Linked DNA regions of Homo sapiens: regions 2, 3, 4, 5, 6 and 7 are each linked to region 1. Evidence: promoter capture Hi-C in 16 types of primary human blood cells and fetal thymus (Javierre and others, 2016). All regions are on one chromosome and are shown on one strand. The core of a region is centred on a gene start or on the middle of the fragment in contact, and the rest is flanking DNA. Distances in the headings are between cores, read along the strand shown.

Region 1 (2,906 bases), core at 173-2,672:
ATTCCCATTAACATTCATGAGGGCTAAGCAGCCGAAGTCCTACATATCAAGCAGGGAATATATCCTTTGTCTGCTGATGAGAGAACGTCTCAGTGATAAATGGTTACAGACAGGGGTGTCATGAGGGCAACAACACACAGAACAATTCAGACAAACTTTTTAAAAAAGTCTTCTCCTGCAGTTTTTTTTTGTGGCGCTGGGAAGCACAGTGCCTATCCCTGCTAATAAAAGAAAACTATTGCAATGCAAAACTCCTAACCTTTGCAGAGGCACTTACCAGAAAACCAAAAACATACTCTTTGAAAAACAATTTAAAACCAAGCTTCAAAGGCTTTCTAATGTATAAATATTCAGACATTCTGAAAAGCACTGCTCTGCACCCTGCACCCCAGCTATTTGTGCCTAAAATGGATATTGTCGTAACAGTTAGCATGGTTGTCAAAGTGCAACGTCTCTAATATCAACACTGAGAGACATCAGACTCATTAAAATGCTTTACATTCATTAATTAGGTTGGTGCAAAAGTAGTTGCGGCTTTTGCCAAAGTCATACATAAATTCAAACACATTATGATACTCATTTAACACATTTGTGATAAAAATCATGTATGAAGTCATGAGTTTATTTAATAAGCTAATATTCCATAGAGTCCAATGGTGACTACCAATGACTCAGTTAATTTTCAAACCAAAATAAGTTAGATTACAATTTGTTGACTCCCTTGACTCCTCGAGCCAGGGAAAACATTTCCTGGGGCCTGACTCTAGGTGGCTCACTTCCCTCACCTAAAAACAGGAAGGGTGAGACAACCCCCTCCAACCCTCGTCCTCGGTCCCCCAAGGATTTCTCTCCAGAATTCTGCCTCTTCTGCAGCAGTCTGGAGTCTTCAGCATGAAAAGGGTAACAAACATGGCGCAATTTTCTGAAACCGTGATGTCAACAGTGTTTTTGAGGTGTCCTTTCCCACCCTAAAGAAAATTCGAGATGCACAGCAAGAAAAAAATGCAAGACAGCTCCCCGACACATCCTGAGCCACGCCTCGTCCTCAGGGTGCACCCGACAGTCTCTGCCAGCGCAGTGTGGACGCTGGACAAAGACGCAGCCAGTAGGTCGCTGGTGGTCGCGGGTTGGATCCGCTGACTTGGCCACCAAATCTTTTCCTCGGGGAGTGAAGCGGCACGGAAGGAGCGGAGTCAAGGGCGGGGCTGGGGATTGGACCCGCCCCCGGGCCCGGGGATTGGACCCGCCCCCGGGCCCCGGAGGAGTCCCTGCGCCTGCGTGCCGGGCGTGGACCTGTGGTTGGACTCCCCCGTTTTGGGCTGCCCTCCGCGTCCTCCCCCGCCCCTTCCCACCTCCGCCCACTTGACGCGATGACGCATCTCAGGTTTGCGGACGTGGCGGCGGCGTACGGCCCGGAAGGCGGAGACGTTGGCGGCAGAGGCGGAGGCGGACGGGGTCAGCCCAAAGCAGAGGCTCGGCCATGAACTTACCCGGGACAGCGGCGGCGGCGGACCTTTTGGCCATCTTCTCGCAGAGTGCTCCCTGCTAACGGGGACAGGTAAAGATGGTGGCAGGAGGTGAGGGTAGCCCGGTCCAGGAGGGCGGGGTTGAGCCCCAGCTGCGTCCTCACGGGAGGCGCTGAGCCTCGGCCACAGGTGTGGTGGGGGCTGCAGGGCCGGGCTCGGCCCGTGTGGCGGACACCCCCGAGACAGGGAAGAACTTCCAGACCAGCCCTGCCAGGCCCTCTTGTCACACTGTCGGGGAAACTGAGGCTCAGAGGAAGGACGCCTACCTGCTGGATTACCTGGGCAGCTAATTTCCCACCCAAACACAGCATTTCTCCCACGACTTTATGTTGGCGTGAAATATTCGCTGACGGCATCTTGTCACATCGTTCAAGTGTCATGCTGTGACAGAAGACTCTGAGACGTAATCTTCGCTGACGATAGCAGGGAAAGAAAAACTTGACGTGTGGAATACAGAGGGAGGAGGTAGTTAAGTTTTAAAAAACAAAATTGTCCCTGGCAGCGGATAGGGTGCCTTTGATTCTGTCCCTTTGCAGCTTTAACTTGTGCCCTGTGACCCTCTTATTGCACCTTGCTTAGTTAAAGAAGGTCAAGGCGAAACACCCAGCAGCCATTCTACAGTACGAAGGTGTTTGGGAAACCGTTTTCAGTTACAGACTGAGCTGAAGAATGCTTTAACACTGTTTTGTGGCCCCTCGTAATCTAGGTAGCACGCAGGCTTGTTCCAAGTTTCTGAAAGGGAGTTCGTGCCTTTTTCCTGCTCTAAGAGAATTAAGAGAGGTGAATAGAATTGAGCCAGATGACTTAAATATTATGTATTTTCTAATCTCTGAGTAGTAGACTGGAGTGATCGCCTGGGTCAGTCTGTTCACTTCGGTTGAAGACACAGCCAGTTCTTGATCATTCAGAATACCCAGATTTGTAACACGATAGTCAGCTGCCTGCATTTCATTATAAAGGGGAGTGGAGAGATAGTGAGACAGGTGAAGTTCTGACCTTTAAATTATATTTAGAAATATATCGTGGAGAGAGGTTGATAGAAACAAGTATCTAAAATGGCTTTGGGGCATTGCTTAGTGATTTTCAGTTAGCTGCACTACTAAGCCAATTTTGAAGTTCTAAGTACAAATTATTAGGGTGAAACTGTCTAACAAGACACATAAGTAGGTCGGTATAGCCAAGTGTAAATTGCTGTATATTAAGTCTTAACTTTTTTGATCATGGATGCCTTTTGAGAATATGAAGCAATGAAAATTCTCCCCAGAAAAATATACATATGTATAAAATTTGCCTGGAATCTACAGGATTCAAAGACATTCCCTAGGTTAAAGACACAAGATTAAAAAAAGACCTGGTTAAATGAGTGGAAATAAAACTGTT
Region 2 (2,906 bases), core at 261-2,760, 1.8 Mb after region 1:
TATCTCACTGCTGATTGTGTCTTACCAGACTGTGCTTTCCTTGGTTTTAAAAGTAATGGCAATGGTAAACACATCATAACAATAGCTTTAAAATGTTAGTATTTAGTATTATGGTATCAGCTATTTTAATTCGAGGATAATCTAATAGTAAATCGAATGTGACTGTAAAACAACATTTTAAAAAATAGCTGCCATTGAAGACCTTCTTTGGGATGGCACACATAGTTCTGAATGTCTGCAACAGTCAGAGGATATGCTATTCAAATTGGCATATCATCCTCAGTTGAAGGTGACATCTTCTGCTTTTTTTTTTCAAAAATACCATTTTAAGGAAAAAATAAACTAATGAGGTTCATTTTCTCATGTGTCTCAGAAATAGATTCCAATGACAAAATGAATGGGAGGAAGAGAAAGGGAAAATGGATGAGGAGGAGAAAAATGAGGATGAGAGAGGAGGAAAAAAGGAGGAAGTGGAGAAATAGAAGAATCCAAATATATTGTAAAAAGACACTTTATTCAAATAAGTACATAATCTCACAGCTGAATACTTTCCATGAATATTCTGACACATTTATTTAAATTTTTGAAATCTTACTTTATGCATGTTATAATGGAAAATAGAGGATGAATCTCTTTATAATTTTATCTCATTTATGTTAAATACAAAGATATTCTAGATCAGAACTAACAAGATGAAAGTAATTTATTAAAAGTATGAAATTTCATTAAAGTAGTATTTAATTTTTTTATGTTGGCATGATTGGTCTATTACCAACAACCTTCAAGGAGCTAACTCTTTTATAATCTTTATTCCTGGTGCTTGATTTTCCTCTTTATATCAATCCACTATGTGTTCCACAATTCTAATCTCAGATTTAAAAAATAAATGGTCAAAGGGAGTGGCAAAATATTTGAATTGCTTTCAGAGGTTTGATGGTAGGACCCAGAAGACATAGAGATTGCCAGAATTAACATAACAGAGGATTCAATGTGCTCCTGTGAGAAGCATTGATTGGGGTGGGAATACAAGTCTGTTTCAAGCTTTCTGTACTGGTAGTAACTACTCACAGCTTCTACTCTTGCTTCTTAACCATAGCTTTCCTTTTTTTTTCTTTCCAGGGCTATAAGATTTTTATTTGATTTCAATAATCTTCCACCTGTATCTCCTTTTTACTTATAATGAAAAATTTCAGTTCTGTAAGACACCAATATAATGACTTACTTGCTTTATCTCATAATATATAAACAGTTGCAAAATATGAATAACAGCACTACAACTAGCAATATGATGATTGCTTAACAGCTAAAGATTATTTTTAGGGTTTTTTTTTGCCGTGATTATTTCTTAAGGTATAAAAAGTCAAATTACTACACAGCTTTCCTTTATAATGGGCAACCAAGTACCATAGGTTGAAGGGCTACTCTTCAGCAGTTATAGCCTCACTTGAAAACTCGGCTGACCTCTGCTAAGAGCTTCCACTTAGCGGTTGGTAGTTGTGTTCAGACTCTGCCTCTGCTACTTACTAGCTCTATACCTTTGTGAAAGCCATTTAATGTCTCTGCCTCAGTTTTCAAATTGGAAAGAAGAGAGGGAGGAAGAAAAACAGAAGGAAAAACCCTATTTTACATGGTTGTTCTCAGACTAAGAAAAAATATATAAAGCATTTACCTCAATGCCTAGAGCTTAAAAATTATTAAGCAAATGGTAACTATATTATTTAGCTCATGAGCCAAATTCTTTCCAGATAAAATTTTTAGAAATCAATAGAAATAAAACTTGCCACGTAAAAACAATTTTCCACCTTCAACAGAAATATATGGGCAGGTAAATTCTGTCTTATGCAAACTTTTGTGGTTCTTTAAAATTAACCGTAGGAGGAAAAAGATTTACAATGTATTTTGGGGGGGAGGGGCGGGAATGGCAGTGAGGGAGACAAGAAATATGTAGGGAAAATCATCTTAGAAAAAATAAAGCTTCTTAAAATTGATATAAGCAGAGGGTGGAAACTGAGGCCGGGAGATTATTACTCGTCCACGCTTACAGGGTGGGGTGGGGCAGCGTTCTCCAGGGTTTCGCCTTTGCCGAAGACCCGCTCCACCTTCTCTCGACCCAGATGCCCTTGTCGGGAAGAGTATGCTGTCCTCAGTGCCTGGGACAAGCTCACAAGCCCTCGTCTGTTCCAGGAATTCCAGTCCAAGCTCAGTCCTCTCTCCATCCCGGGGCATCCTAAGCGTGTCTTTGAACCGCACTGTGGAGTTTCACTCCGAAAGTCCTTCTTACAGAGCAACTCCAAGGATGGGCTGAAAAGCACATAGAGAAAATGGAACAGTGCGAAGTTGGAAGGTCCGTGCGGGTGGCAGCGCCAGTGTGGGGATGAGATGCTCACAGGACGGTTTTTAGGCGGCTCACAAGGGTTTTTTCTTTCTTTTCTTTCTTTCTTTTTTTTTTTTCTTTTTTCTTTTTCTTTCTTTTTTTTTTTTTTTTTTGAGACGGAGTCTCGCTCTGTAGCTCAGGCTGGAGTGCAGTGGCGCGATCTCCGCTCACTGCAACCTTTGCTTCCCGGGTCCCGGTTCAAGCGATTCTCCTGCCTCAGCCTCCCGAGTAGCTGAGATTACAGGCGCGCGCCACCATGCCCAGCTAATTTGTGTATTTTTAGTAGAGACGGGGTTTCACCATGTTGGCAAGGCTTGAACTCCTGACCTCGTGATCCGCCCGCCTTGGCCTTCCAAAGTGCTGGGATTACATGCGTGAGCCACCGCGCCCGGCCTCACAAAAGTGTTTTTGAAGGCTCCATTCCCGAAGACTGAGTGAGGTATTCGATATCCTCCTCCCTCATTGAAAAGTTGTGTAACAGGAATCTAAGTTCATGCCGTTTGATTCCCAAGACTTCTCCAAGCCGCACTGT
Region 3 (2,906 bases), core at 154-2,653, 1.8 Mb after region 1:
GGTGGATCACCTGAGCTCGGGAGTTTGAGACCAGCCTGGCCAACATGGGGAAACCCCGTCTCCACTAAAAATAAAAAAAAAACAAAATTGGCTGGTGTGGTGGCATGCCTGTAATCTGAGCTACTCGGGAGGCTGAGGCAGGAGAATTGCTTGAACCCAGGAGGCAGAAGTTGCAGTGAGCCGAGATTATGCCACCGCACTCCAGCCTGGGTGACAGAGCGAGACTCCATCTAAAAAAAATTAAAAATAAAAAACTTAAAAAAAAAAAGAAATGAAGAAAGTAGTTACTAACATGGCAAGGGGTTGGGGAAAGAGGTGAATGAGAGGAAAGATTTAACAACACATATTTTTAAATATTGTTTTTATTTTTGAGCTATATGATATGCCACTTATTTTTTTTAAGATTTTAGTTTGAAAAAAAGGCTTCCCCCCAAAAGCAAATGCCACACACTGAATAGATTTACAGGGAACTCTCCTCTAATGAAGCAGCCTTTGGAAAGAAAATGCCAGTGTGTAGAGCAAACCTCAGGACTGATAGGCTCGCCTCTAGGATTCTCCAGGCACAGATGGCCTCAGCTGTCAGTTCTGGATGACACGACCACAACCTTAAGGTTAGCAGTTTGCTTCTCTATTGACTACACTAACTGGCCAAAGAGCCTTACTTAAGCAAGCAGTTTTCTATAATTAAATCACAAATATTAATTTAGAATTCATCCTATAAGGTTTAATTTACTCTGCCTAGTTAATAATCAGTTTATCCTATCAGCCATCTAATATTAAGACTATAAATCTAGAGATCTTGGCTGAATTTCCGTTGCTTCCTTGCTCATTGCCATTGTAACCTGCTCCCCTATGACCAACCCAGCTATAGTATTAGAACACAGAAAGCATGTCATTCTTACCAACTCCTGTGTCCATAACAATCAGCTGAAATTGCATGGAGACTATGTTACTTTTTGGTACTTTCAAATTCATCAGCTAAATTTCCAAGTAAGATTTGGGAGGCTGAAAATAATATTTTTCACTATTTTCCATCTTTTCATTCTTCCCATTTACTATCCTGGTTTATGTGCTTTGCATGTGAAAAAGATTATTTGAGCAAATCAAAAAACATTTTCTTTACTTTAGAGTTCTACTGGCAATAAAAGAATAATGCTTTCCCTCATGAACATGTACAATTGTTATTTATCAATTGAAATAATTTTTTTTCAAAAATAAAGAATAATACTTTCTGGCCAGAAGTGATAGCTTACACCCTGTAATCCCAATGGTTTGGGAGGCTGAGGTGAGCAGATCACTTGAGCCCAGGAGTTTAAGACCAGCCTGAACAACATAGTGAGATGCCTGTCCTACAAAAAAATTTAAAAATTAGCCTGTCATGGTGGTGCACACCTATAGTCATAGCTATTCTGGAGGCTGAGGCAAAAGGGTCACTGGAGCCCAGGAGTTAAAGGTTATAGTGAGCTATGATTGCACTATTGCACTCCAGCCTGGGGGACACAGCAAGACCCTGTAGCTATAAGAGAGAGAGAGACAGAATAATAGTTTCTTCTATCTCTCTCCTGAATCCCCCAACCAGTAATGATATTTGTCCTTTGAGTTTAATAACTACGAAATAACTCAGAAAAATGATTTTTGTCTTCTAACCAATGTGTCCTCTCCAGAGTCCACTTTAAATATACTGACAATACAAAGACATACACAACAGCCCTTCCTCACCTACCTTGATAAAGCCCAGTTTTCTTCCTGCCTTTTTAATAATGCATTTTGTAGACTCTGAGAATAGAAGAGAGAGTTCCTATGAAATATAAAATCAAGAAACAGGAGACATGATACATTGAACTTCTGTATTTTAAAAATTATGTATGACTAGTTATTAGATAAACCAGAATGTAACTAATTTCAGTGCTAATTGTGATAACAATTATTAAAATTCACTCATTAAAATTTATGTGAGGATTATGCTGCATGAAAGAATCTGGGCACAAAAGAGAACAAACTGTATAATTGCATTTATATACAGTTCAAGAACAGACAAAACTAATCTATGCTGATAGAAATGAGAACAGTAGTTGCCTGTTGGTGGCGGTGGGAACTGACTAGAAGGGGGCACCAAGGGACTTACTTCAGTGACAGAAAAGTTATATATCTTGACTGGGATCATTTGTTAAAATTGACCTAGTGTACATTTAAGATCTGTGTATTTCACTCTGTGTAAATTTTACCAGAATTTTAAAATACTTATATGAAGATAAATCTCAAATTCAGAATATTATGTAAGAAATAGTAGTAGGGAGGCCAAGCACGGTGGCTCACGCATGTAATCCCAGCACTTTGGGAGGTCGAGGTGGGCGGATCACGAGGTCAAGAGATCGAGACCATCCTGGCGAACATGGTGAAACCCCATCTCTACTAAAAATACAAAAATTAGCTGGGCATGGTGGCACGCACCTGTAGTCCCAGCTACTCGGGAGCCTGAGGCAGGAGAATTGCTTGAATCCGGGAGGTGGAGGCTGCAGTGAGCCAAGATCAAGCCACTGCACTCCAGCCTGCCAATAGAGCGAGACTCTGTCTCAAAAAAAAAAAAAAAAAAAAAAAAAAAGAAAAGAAAAGAAAAGAAAAAGAAAAAGAAATAGTAGTAGGAGTTACTACTCTAAGGTATCTCCTGTTGAAGTATATGAGGGCCTGCTTCAATACAGATAATCATTATGCTTCCATTGAGCCCTGATTCAAATCAAGATAAACTACTCAAAGAATATTAGTTCTCTTAAATACTTTGAACATACTCAACTATAACATTTGCTGTGCTGTTATATTACCATAGATAAAGGGAAGTAAATTCCAGCTCAATCCTGATCAAGTTAACACAAATGCTAAAGTAGTAGCAGTAATCTAACATAATTACA
Region 4 (2,906 bases), core at 258-2,757, 1.8 Mb after region 1:
TTTTTTTGTACTGGAGACATCAGATTGTCAATTTCTTCCTTATTTGCAAATACAAGGATGCATGCTAAATCTCAGACATCTGGCTTTTGTAATGTAGTGGTAGCAACCTGCATTTTGGATTCAAATCAAAGCCTCTTCCTTGCTGACAGGGTGATCTCAGTCAAGTAACGGAAGCTTCTTAAGCCTCAGTTTCCTCATCTGTCAAAAGCTGGGATGGTGATGCCTAAATCCGCATGACAGTTAGGACAAATGAGAAAATGTTCGCCAACACAAACCTACTTGATGGACTCTCAATCTTTGGAAAAACAACTTAGTAATAAGTAAAATTTCTTTACCTCTCCCTCACAATCCAGAGCTTACACAGTATGTGCTGTACGTTAAAAGCTCATTGTCTCATTGACAGACTGTTAATTTCACACACACACACACACACACACACACACACACACACGCAAAATCGCTGAACAAAACACAGCCCAAGAAACGTCAAGGACAAATAGGCTAGATATGAAATTCCTGAAGCTCTGGTCCAGCATCAGGTGACATGGTCAAAGAGAAGAGACAGCTCTCTTTTTAGAACGTCTGATGCCCCTGAACTGGTATGGCCAAGAATAGTTCTTGGCTTTGGTATAGTCTTGGGGTATTTCTCTAAGAATATACCACAAAATGCACTGAGGTTTCAGAGAAGTTTCTTCATAGTTTAACATTATGCATTATTATATAATTTCCCTAAGAAACCCCCAGAAAAAGTGGAGCCTTTATTTTGTGTGTAAGAATCCCTAATTAGGAGTCTTTAGCAAGATAAGAATCAGAAATCTGATTTGCCCCCTTTCTACATTAAGCATATTGAAATTTTCATCATACCCAGATTTCTGACCCCTGAATGTTTTGTGGTTGCCTTTTCTCTTAGAGCTATTCAATGTAAAATATCTTTTTTTCTCAAAAAAATAAAAATAAAAACAAAACTGATTTTGATACACAACAGCTGAATAACTCACAGTTCCTAGCATATGTAACAAGGTTTCAGGCATTCAGGCTAGGACTGCAGTCTAGAAGATCATATTTTTCCACTAATTTTTTTTTCAACTGTCACTTCCAGTAGAGTAGGGGATTGTATGAGCAAGTTTATGATACACAATTTAAAGTAATTTTCTATAAAAAGATGTATGTTCATTTGAGGCACAAAACAATATCCTGATATTGGAAACTAACTTTTAATCTTAAAACTTTAAAAACTAAAATATAAAATTAATTGATGATAGTGAGCATTATTATGTATGTGACATTTCCTGTCTAACAACCCAGTATGCTGTAACTGTTTTCAAAATTGCTTTATTTTTTTTTTAAAGTGAGTAAAACATTTTGTTGAAGTAAAAGCAGCAAATTGATACTTCAGAGGTCCAGCTGTGTGTTCAGCTTAATGTTTTCCTGTGTCAATTTGCTTCAAATCCCTCAAAATCAGATACTATTAACAAATTACTAAACAAAATTATTTTTATACATTTATATATTAGAAGTTATTTCCCGGGTAACAACTAATCGCAGATACTAAAAAATACTGGACATTTCACTGTAACATTGGGTGTTTCTGATAGAAGCTGGTCTCTTAAATTGACAGTAAGTAAGTAAGCATCATTACCATTTAAGTATATTACAGGGGAGAAGATTATTGACTAAAATATTACAAAATCTACTTTTAAAAGCATATTTAATCATCCACTCAAAATAGCACACTAAAAGTTAAACAGCTACTCTGGTGTTCAGTGTAGCTAAACTCAGTATTTCCTACTTGTAAATATTTATTTATCCAGAAAGAGACCAGAAATATGGTTTGAACATCACCATTCTGTGCCTCTTTATGAGAATTCAGTGTCTTCTGAACCAGAACTACTATTTACTATGCCCAAGTTGACCTTACAACATGTCCCTCAAACTTGCACATCACCTCTGGCTTAGGACAACCTTGACTGTCCTGTCCCTAGTTGTGTCCTCTCTTCATTTGTATCCCCATAATTTGCAAATGAGACTCGACATAGAAAGGCTTTCACTATCTCAGAGCATGACTGGTTCTGAAGGAGCAGTGTAGTGTTGTACTTCAGGGCATGGACTCTGGACATACTGCTTGGGTTCAAATCATAGCTTCACCAGTTGATAGCTGTTTGACATTGAGCAAATTCCTGGACCTCTCTTTTCTTCGGTTTTCTCATTTCTCATTTTTCATAGGGATACTATTAGTATCCCACAGGGTTGTTCTTGTGAAGATTAAAAGTGCTTTATATCCATGTACAATATCTAGCACTTACATAGCAGTTACAAGTGCCTGGTACTCTTCTGAGCAGTTAATGTGTATGCTTAATGTTGTGTTGTTGGTAAATAATACTATACACTGTGTTAGCGATTGCTAATATTGTTGGATGGTAAGATTGTCAATGACTGCCTCAGATGAGTACCTGAGAGCCTCTCATTCAGATTACTTTCATGCTTCTCTCACACTAGGGAAATACTTCTATTGAGAAAACTAAGGCTCTGTAGGGTTGAGAGAACTCTTAACAGAAACATTTTGAGTAGAACCTAGATTACTCTGCCTTATCTTTTTTTTGTCCCCAACTCCTGGATGCCTGTAAACCTTTCTCTCTGCGCTGCCTCATTCAGACATCATTTCTCATGTATTCTAGAGCAAGGCGTTCTAACTAGCTTCTCTAACAGCAGTCCAACCCCCTTTTGTCTCTCCTTTCCACTGCCATCATTGTTCCTTTCCTAACACAAATTTAATAAAGCTAACAACTAAGAAGCTATCTTAGGCACTCATTTTCTAGAGTATAAAATTTGGTAAAAGCTTAGTATAAAGCCTACAGTGTAAAGTTAACATAATCTTAGAGGTTCATGTTAGCCAAGCCTTCTTTTTC
Region 5 (2,906 bases), core at 407-2,906, 1.7 Mb after region 1:
AGCAGTTCTTCATCTTTTTTTTTTTAAATTAGTGATTATTTATATGTAGCTCTGTCATTTTCTAAGAATGCTTCTTTCCTGTGGAAAAAAAGTAGTGGCAAGGCTGTTGGAATTATTTTAAGCTTATGGTTGATTGTACGTAATGAAAGTTCTCAGCATAACTTGAAATTTTACTACATGTAGGCTAGCTGTTATATTCCTTTTTCATATACACACAAAACAGTTTTACAGATTACTAAAGTTAAATAATCTCTTTCTTCGCCTCTCTAGGCCTCCTACAAATTGATACTTGAAACTGACCTTTTAATATAGTTTTTGCATAAAAATTAGGTTAGAGAAAATGTTGTGCTAAGAAAACAATGCGTGAGCTATTGTTGACCTTCCTAATTCTTTAAATTTTTAGTGACAGCCTTGAAATGTGGTGACCCATAATCAAATGTTCTAAACCACGTTTCATGATAGACTTTACTTCATGACCAGTTACTTAGTGTCATCATCACCACATATTACTCTGCACGTGTACTTCATACTAAATTTTGGATTTTAGAAATGTTCTGAAGGCAATACCTCAAGAAATATTTATACAGAAAACAAAAGTTTAGTTCTATTGAAATTTAAACTTGCTTCTCTCTACATTGCTTTGCATATTTCAAAAAAGAAAATATATTCAATGGCATTTTTATCAACCACTTATATATACATAGATACATACACACATTCTCTTTGGCAAAATTTTTTTCCAGCATGTTTTAAGAAATTTTTTTTTAAGTCCTTGCTCTGCTCTTTTTAAAAATGGTCTCATTCAAAGTTGTGAAATATGGGGTGATGATATGGAGGAACTCTCCTAAGTTTGGTTCATCAGGAACTCTCTCTGTCTTTCTGAGACTTTTCTCCAAGGATGTTTTGCTGCTTGTTTGGTTATTTGTATTTTGAAATCAGGATCTGTAGATGTTCTTGTCTCTTCTGCCTTATCACCACACTCTAATCTGCTCACCCTGACCTTCCACCTTGAAGTGAATAAGCGCTTAGGCAGGCATAGTCCTGTAAGCCGATAGTGCCACCGGCCTCAGCTAAATGAAAGGAAAGGAAATTGTCCTATATGCATTTGCTGTGGATTCATGGATTGGCTTTCTGTGATAGAGAAAGCTTGTTTGTATCTTTGGGGTCTTAAACGTGCATGGGAAATACCATTCTAACACACTGCTTGCTTCTAAGGTAAGACTATAGGAAACACAGGAAAGTTGCCCCATTGAGTGACATTTAAGACGTTTTCTAAAAATAGATGGACAGTGTCTAGCAACATCAAATATATGATGCAATTATGCTTTGTGGGTTTTTCATATTTTAATGTGATTTCAATATGTTATAACTATTTTTATATGTATTTGTCAAATGTGTGTTATTTCTATAACTCTTTAGAATTTTGAACCACCTCCAACATTTAAAATTACAGCTGGAGCAATAGTTTTTGATGAGCACTGTGTGGTCATAATGTTACTCAACATACATATTATGAGAGGCAGAACTGAGCTGCAGTTTAGTAGAGAGGCGTGAGGCAAAAGAGAATGGATAGTCTTAGTATTTAAGCAGCACTTAATCCACCAGAAGTAATTATATCATAATAGCTTCTGCAATTAAATAATCACCAAAAACTAAAAAAAAAAAAAATACCCAAGGTGATAAAGAATTTGGAAATTAAATTAAAGAAATCAGAAGACAGCTAATGGTCAGACCGAATGTGTAACAGCCTTCCTGTTCCAAGAACTTTGAATTGGAGCCAAACAATCTATTAAATAGCCAGGACATTGGCTTAGCATTACATAATACATGTGGGAATTTATCAGGTCCGTTGTCAGACACCAGCTAAAATAAACAGGGAAATTCTGAGCAGTGTGTAAAGTTGTTGCATTCATTGACCTAAAACGAAGTAGAATAATTGGAGCTGTTGCTTGAAAAACCCATTGTGGAATGCTTTCTTGTTAACTTTCACATTTCAGAGCAATTAACTTCCGTTGTGTTCAAATATTTTCAGATGTAATTTAAAACCAAGTAAAGTATGTACTTTTAATATTCTGGGTTTCTTGGGCTTATCTCATGTTATTGATGATCATTTCTCTAATTTTAATTCCTGACCCAGAGATCTCCAGTATGTAATGTGAAGCTTCTGCAATTTTGTATCTTACTCCACAAAGACATGATATGTCTGTTTCTAAATATTTAAATTTAAAGGAAGGATGGCTTGTTATAAAAAATATGGTTATAAATTGAAGAATAATCTTAATTTTGCACCATTTATTTTGTGTCAATGCTTATCTTTTTTGATTCTTGTTATCTAAGATGTAGTTTAAGGGCTTTCAAAAAGAAAAGATCTCACTGCTGATAGATGCTTGTAATCTAAGATTAAATATTCCATATTATTTTTAAGGTGTTCTCACAGCAATAATTTTTTTAAAGTAAGATTAAAGGATTTAGATTTAAATTAGTTGACATTTACATATATCAAATAGCACTTTCATAATCGTCCATCCTATTTGCATAACGAGGGACGTTATCACCTCTGCTGTCAAAACAGGAGATTGTTTTCCCTTCAGAAATGAATTAGCTGCCCTACTTAGCATACACAGGTACATAAAGGTTCATTAACTCTCTGATTTAGGTAATTTTTCATAACGGGTGAAATTGTCACCTAATTTCATTAAAAAGATTAGGAAACTTTTTACAAAAAAAAATACATTTCAAGTGTTAGTCTTTAAAAAAGCATAGTTTGCATCATTTAAATGACTTGTTAAATTACTTATGAGATCATTTTAATTGTTAAAAAATAAAACTACTTGATCTGCTCCTGTCTGTGATATACCATATATTTTTAACAAAAAAGTTATTTTTATTCATTTTATTGCTTTAGC
Region 6 (2,906 bases), core at 229-2,728, 1.7 Mb after region 1:
GTGTAAGTTTTATTAAATGTTAATTTGTTTTTTATTTCAATAACAAATGAGCAATTTATAATAAAAACAGTTTTCCACCTTTTCTGAGCTATTCATATTTTAAAAGTGTGCAATCACAGATATTAACTTTTCAAGAGAGAAGCACATTAATACTAGATAACTCCATGAAACTTAGATAACAAGAGGCACTTTGCCTCTTTTCTTCTTTGTAAACATGTTCATTTTGAAAAATTTGGGGGAAAAGATACCTGAAATTTTTTCCTTGGCCCTAACTTAACGGAATCAATAAATTCCATAACACTGCAAACGTATCTTTCTAATAAATACTTTATTTAAACTTCTTTTATAAAGAACAGCACTGAATAACTCCTTAGCATATCTTAACATTATCTTTTAAAACTTTCTTCTGTTTATTGTAGTATATTTTGTGGTTTTATTTCTCAACTCTAAAGTGTGGTATAATTTGAGTCTATGAAATCTCAGAAAGTGACAAAAATGGGGAAATAGCTGTGCAGCAATACTTGTGCTACATAACAACAAAGACATAGTTATTAAACAGAATTCTGGCTTTGGGGACATGATTCGAAGCAACATAGAAGAATTTAATATGCAATTAATGGTCACAAGATGAACTGTTAAGAGATTATTAATAAAGTTACACTTTTTTTTCAAAAGCACATCCTCTGAGAAAATACCACACAAATTAATATCTAAAACTTATCAAAATACACGTATTCATTCTATACTAATGTGGTGATTGCCTAGACACGATGAAATGATTTAATCACTGTTGTTCCATCAGTATGCTGCATGTGGAAAGACAGGTAATTAAGATCCCCGTCCTTAGCACTGTACCTTAATCTTATAGGCGCGTGGACTGTCTTGCACTCAGTAAAGCTTGACTGTTCACCGAGATCTGTCACCTTTAGGAAATCAAACCAGATTACAGAGGTGATTCACAAAACCAGGAACAACAGAGTCTATGCACGTTACAAAAGGCAGATTACATAGTTCACATGTTATTTTGATAGGTCAAAGATAAAAGCTGATTGTTGAGGAATGGCAAGACACTCAATTTCAAATGATTGCTTAGATAAGCATACTTTGACCCTGTTGCTTCATCATTATGATCCATTCAAACAATGGAAAATTCAGTTTTCAAATGACAGGCTTTCAGTAGTGAAGTAAGAGAAAACATGTCCTTTTTTATGTATGTCTTCATTGTGTAAATTTTAAGTTCCATCATTTCTTTATGAACAAACATTAAATTGTCTGCTTACATGAAGCAGGTATTGTAAGGCTTAAATGCATTAGACATTTTCAGAGGCGTTATAAAGAGCACAAAACAGAATTTGCCAGAAATAAAACATACACTCATGTTATTGAGTAATTCAGCAGAAAATGCATAATAGTCAATATCCATTATGTTATTCTGTTACCAAATATATTCTACATAAAAATGTGTAATTACATAGTTATGAATCCATATATGTGAAACATATCTTCATAAAAGTTCATTGGTCAAATTTTATATATATATATAATATATATATTTCATGAATGTTATATAAAGATCATTCTTTACAACAGAATATGATGTTTTGAGAGTTTATTTCAGAGAATAAAGTTTTGGTTTACATAATAACATTTTGAAAATCTTAACTTCTTACACACCCAACTTTACAGTAATTTTTTGCTTCTTCTAAAATTGAAGTCCTTTTTTACCCAACTGATGCCTCCTAGTGTTTCACACAATAAAACACTAATGAGTCACCCATAAATGTAAACATTGCATTTTCATTGCCTACATCATCTGTGATACATAAAATTAATATTTATGTGTTTAATTTTCTGTGCACTATTATAATAAGATAGAAAATTTTAGTGAATGAGATGTTTCATCTGAGTGGATTTGTGGCACGCACTTGCAGGTTTTCTTTGACCATCACAATATCTTACTAAGTTTTAACAAGTTTATTACCTTCAGTTGCAGTTATATATTCACTCTTTATATTCACTCTTATTTCAAGTGAGAAACATAGGTAAATAACAAAGCTTTCATTTTGTAGGCCTGGGAATTATACAGTTGGGTTCATTCTGAAATGCCTGATAAATTGCACAAGGACTATCCATTTCATTTACACACTAAAATATCTTAAAAGAGATATAATTTTTTTTCCTGCTGTGTCTTTACACTTGAAAATTTCTTTGTAAAAGTGGAATAAAGAAAGACTATTTAGAAAAGATAAAATCAAAGATAAATGCAAAATTTTCTATAAATATGGAGTATATTTATTAGAAAATAACAACAAAAGAAAAACTTTCCTTGGAAGGAAACATATTATTCTACATAAAGGGAAGTCGTGTTAGAACACAATATCCAATGACCAGCAGCTTGCCTTAATGAGGTAGAAGTTAGTGGGTGCCAACTTTGGTGTGAGTTTTCTGCCATTAGGATGGTAAGCGTAGACCTGTGATATTTTTGCATGTTTGTGATTTCAAACAGCTCTCTGATTCTACTTCCTAAGTTTCTAAATGTTTTTTATCCAATATACTTATGAAAGAAAGGGGTCATTCCTGTAATGGGTCTTAAATTGAAAGGAGGCCATCAAAAACTTGTAACATTCATGGGCCTCTTCCTGAGGTGTCATACAACATACCTGTACACAAAAACATTCATGAGTTTCTTCTACTAACACAAACATTCTATAGCATCCAAGTGTAGACACTAGATTGAACTTCATTCTGTATATGTGTCATTTAGTTCTCCTGACTCAAAATACACAGTGTATTAACAATATTTGACTATCACTTAAGATTTTCTAATTTAGTCAATAATACAGTGCTATTACAATTGTTGGACACATTTCAAAGAATGTAAGGGGGTGTGTTCCTTTCGTTCAAGG
Region 7 (2,906 bases), core at 204-2,703, 1.6 Mb after region 1:
GGTAATGATGCCCACACATTTCTTTTAGTCATATTTTCTTTTGAGCTCATAAACTATTTCGGAGTTATGGGAAGAAAGCTTTAAAGCTTTCAGCTTCTCATTTTCAAAGAAAATGAAATCAAAGAACAAAAATGAAATTTACCAAAGGTCACCAAGGTGGTGACCTTTATGTAGATACAGACTTGGGTCTGTTTCCCAACTTAATATCCAGGGATTTTTTTTCTAATTAGACTTTAAGCATGTTGACTAGTAAACTATAAGTAACAATGATCACATGGAAAATTAATGTGAATTATATTCCTTTGAAGAACCCTTTTCAGTCACCAAATTTAATACCTTGTTAGAGAAATACACATTTTTATCACAGCATATTAAAATGTAGTTCTAAAAAATACAAAGACTATAAATGTACTAAAACATCTATGGTACAAAAGTTTTTTATTTGTCTTACCATTTAAATGGATTTCCAAACTGGAAATATTTATGAATGTATATGAAATAGCAGAAATAAAAAAATTATCAAAGGTAATACATATATTTAGAAGATAAATGTAGAAATCAAAAATATAAGTTGGAATATAGGGTTTTTTTTAAGATTGGGAGTAATTAAAAATACAAAATATACTAACACATAAGTATATGTATATATCAAGTGCATAATACATTATATAGTTCATATAACTGACTTAACAACTGACTAGCTTATGTGTGTGTATATATAACTATCTTATATTAATTCCAAAATTATTAATTATATTAGTAAATATGGTCTATTTATATAATTTGTTGATAATATTTGTGCAATATATTGATCTGGTCAAGGTCATGAAAATATTAATATTCAAGCCAAATATTTGTCTTCTGGATCTCCAGAAAAGAAACTGTTTAGTTGAAATCTACCACATTCTGAATTTATAAGAATTTATTTTAGTCCTGGGCTTTGGAACAGTACTTGCTTATAAGAAGTATTAGCTTTAAAACCCAGACATGTAAATTAATAAGAAAAAGAGATGGGGTAAAGCTTAAAATATTGAGAAAAAATATGGAGGGAAATTGTGGCTAGGGTTCCCCTGCAAGGGATTGATCTAAAATAATCAACATTTTTATGACTAACAACACCATTTAGCAACTAAATTGTATATCTAAATTTGAAAATATATTTGCTTATTCCATTACATTTAGTCCAAATCAACATTAGTCATTAATCAACAAACCATTTAACAATATGTAATAACAGTATGCAAATCAATTGCAAGCAAAATAGTAAATAGCATCCATTTCTAGCAATTTGAAAGATAGGCAAGTTTAATCATTGCCCTGCATCCCAAAGGGGTTTTAGTGAAAATAAGTGACTTGTCCGGTATCTGCTTTTGAAGGATCATAGAGGCTTCCTCATTAGAGTTAAAGAGTGTTCTTCAAAGAGCACCAGAGCAGAAGTAGGAAGATTTGAGTTAGACTCTCTGTTTCACTGCAAAGTCATTTTGTGACTGGAAACAAGTCACTTAACCTCTGTGAGGCTAATGAATGGATGGGCCTTTTTGGCCATTTTGTACAAATCATAGGAAAGTAAGTTTTAGTTATCCAATGAAAGATATTTCCTCTGTTTCATGTGAGGAAGTCTCAAAAGGAATCTGGAATATTATTGGTGGGTTCCTGTCTGCAATGACTGGGCCCCACCCTATCCCTATTGCTATAAGTAGCCCACCATGTAAGCATTCCAAGTAATTAAAACTGACACACTATCTAGCCTGTGAAGTCAGTGGGGAAAACAAAATCACTTTGCAATATACTCCAGAGCAGCAGGCCTTATTTTTTCCACTTGGGGACCCTAGTAACATAATACAAAAAGTCTCATTCTCAAAATTATGTTATGACACGAAGCTTTGAACTTTTCAGTATGCACTATAAGGCTGAATTGACAAAAAAGTACTGAATGGTCATTTAATATTTTTAATTTTATAGAATGACAGGAAAATTTTTAAACTTAGAAAGATATTCTCCACACACAATGCTGTAAGCCAGCATGATAATATATTTATTTATGTCAGGAAAATGTTGGAACAAGAAACAGTGTTAAAAATATCTGAATCCTAGTACAATATGTCTGCTACATATAGGTATTTAGGTTATGTATGATGAATAAATGGAATGAAAGAATGGATAAATACAGCTGGGGAGTTCAATATTTTTAAGGAAAACTTGTAAACTAAAGCAATACTTTTGCAATAGTAATAATCATTTATTATTGCTATTTTTATGTTCATGAGGACAGAATTAAAACATGATTAATGTATTTTTTAAAAAATCTTAATACAAAAGAGGTTAAAGACCTAAGATATGGATCACTCTGTTGACAAGGTTGGCAAAGATGTGCAGGCCCTTTATGACTGCTTGGCAGATGGAGGTGATTACTGAGGTCACAAGGAACATCTGCATTGATTGAAAATCTCTTTACAGAGAAGCCACATTCCTCAAGTGACTATGACCAGTGCCAGTCCTATTTTCCTGGAGTCTAGGCTCACAGCAGGTGGCAGTCACTGAAGGATGAAAATGTTTGGGAGTCACTTATCACCAATGGTAGAGGTCCCTGGATCTGAAGCCCATTTTACAGGTTTTGCAGAGGTATCAGGACCCAATGAACCGATTCCATCCAAGAAAAGATAATGGCTATCCCTCAATTAAGTAAAGATGAAGAATTGTACAGAAATTTGAGATAATTAGGTTTCCATATTGCTTAACTGGTTTTCTAATTTCAACAGGCAGAATATTTGTGGCATGTCTTTTTTTCTTGTTTACAATTTTGAATCAAGATTCATCTTACTATCTTGAAAGGTTCTCATGACTTTAAAAGTTCCACAAAATTTGTGAACATTAGTGGAGAGAACAGGAGTGAATAACAAACGGAG

What was found. Contacts are between HindIII fragments. The CHiCAGO score rates a contact against its expected background, and 5 or more counts as called.
Region 2: a fragment that was not itself captured here is called in contact with the fragment with the promoter of LYSMD3 in region 1 in 3 of 17 cell types (naive B cells, total B cells and fetal thymus); the score reaches 11.3 in naive B cells.
Region 3: a contact is called between a fragment that was not itself captured here and the fragment with the promoter of LYSMD3 in region 1, in 6 of 17 cell types (total CD4 T cells, naive CD8 T cells, naive B cells and 3 more). The highest score is 11.6, in total CD4 T cells.
Region 4: a contact is called between a fragment that was not itself captured here and the fragment with the promoter of LYSMD3 in region 1, in 8 of 17 cell types (non-activated CD4 T cells, fetal thymus, total CD4 T cells and 5 more). The highest score is 15.1, in non-activated CD4 T cells.
Region 5: a contact is called between a fragment that was not itself captured here and the fragment with the promoter of LYSMD3 in region 1, in 3 of 17 cell types (total B cells, fetal thymus and erythroblasts). The highest score is 7.0, in total B cells.
Region 6: a fragment that was not itself captured here is called in contact with the fragment with the promoter of LYSMD3 in region 1 in 3 of 17 cell types (fetal thymus, naive B cells and erythroblasts); the score reaches 15.2 in fetal thymus.
Region 7: a contact is called between a fragment that was not itself captured here and the fragment with the promoter of LYSMD3 in region 1, in 1 of 17 cell types (total B cells). The highest score is 6.4, in total B cells.

Annotation. Positions count from the first base shown.
Region 1 is chr5:90,528,100-90,531,005 of GRCh38, reverse strand. It overlaps LYSMD3 (LysM domain containing 3), which reads left to right and starts at 1,422. Exons shown (of 3, transcript NM_198273.2): 1 at 1,422-1,558. RefSeq lists enhancers at 766-1,025, 1,651-2,151 and a silencer at 1,136-1,385. The HindIII fragment of the contact is 4,420 bases long and covers 325-2,906 here.
Region 2 is chr5:88,694,741-88,697,646 of GRCh38, reverse strand. All of the region lies in intron 1 of MEF2C-AS2 (MEF2C antisense RNA 2), which reads right to left. It overlaps GSCAR (glioma stem cell association long noncoding RNA), which reads left to right and starts at 503. Exons shown (of 3, transcript XR_007058863.1): 1 at 503-2,906. RefSeq lists an enhancer at 734-1,713. The HindIII fragment of the contact is 933 bases long and covers 1,044-1,976 here.
Region 3 is chr5:88,711,683-88,714,588 of GRCh38, reverse strand. It overlaps MEF2C-AS2 (MEF2C antisense RNA 2), which reads right to left. Exons shown (of 4, transcript NR_146284.1): 3 at 1,724-1,798. Among named protein-coding and RNA genes, the nearest start is that of GSCAR, 16 kb to the right of the region's middle. The HindIII fragment of the contact is 3,530 bases long and covers 1-2,906 here.
Region 4 is chr5:88,737,779-88,740,684 of GRCh38, reverse strand. All of the region lies in intron 6 of MEF2C (myocyte enhancer factor 2C), which reads left to right. Among named protein-coding and RNA genes, the nearest start is that of GSCAR, 42 kb to the right of the region's middle. The HindIII fragment of the contact is 2,662 bases long and covers 177-2,838 here.
Region 5 is chr5:88,824,028-88,826,933 of GRCh38, reverse strand. All of the region lies in intron 1 of MEF2C (myocyte enhancer factor 2C), which reads left to right. Among named protein-coding and RNA genes, the nearest start is that of MEF2C, 58 kb to the left of the region's middle. RefSeq lists a silencer at 1,748-2,042. The HindIII fragment of the contact is 1,015 bases long and covers 1,149-2,163 here.
Region 6 is chr5:88,878,020-88,880,925 of GRCh38, reverse strand. The region is part of intron 1 of MEF2C (myocyte enhancer factor 2C); the gene reads left to right. Among named protein-coding and RNA genes, the nearest start is that of MEF2C, 3.7 kb to the left of the region's middle. The HindIII fragment of the contact is 1,158 bases long and covers 900-2,057 here.
Region 7 is chr5:88,898,095-88,901,000 of GRCh38, reverse strand. All of the region lies in intron 1 of MEF2C-AS1 (MEF2C antisense RNA 1), which reads right to left. It also overlaps a transcript of MEF2C not described here. Among named protein-coding and RNA genes, the nearest start is that of MEF2C-AS1, 16 kb to the right of the region's middle. The HindIII fragment of the contact is 860 bases long and covers 1,024-1,883 here.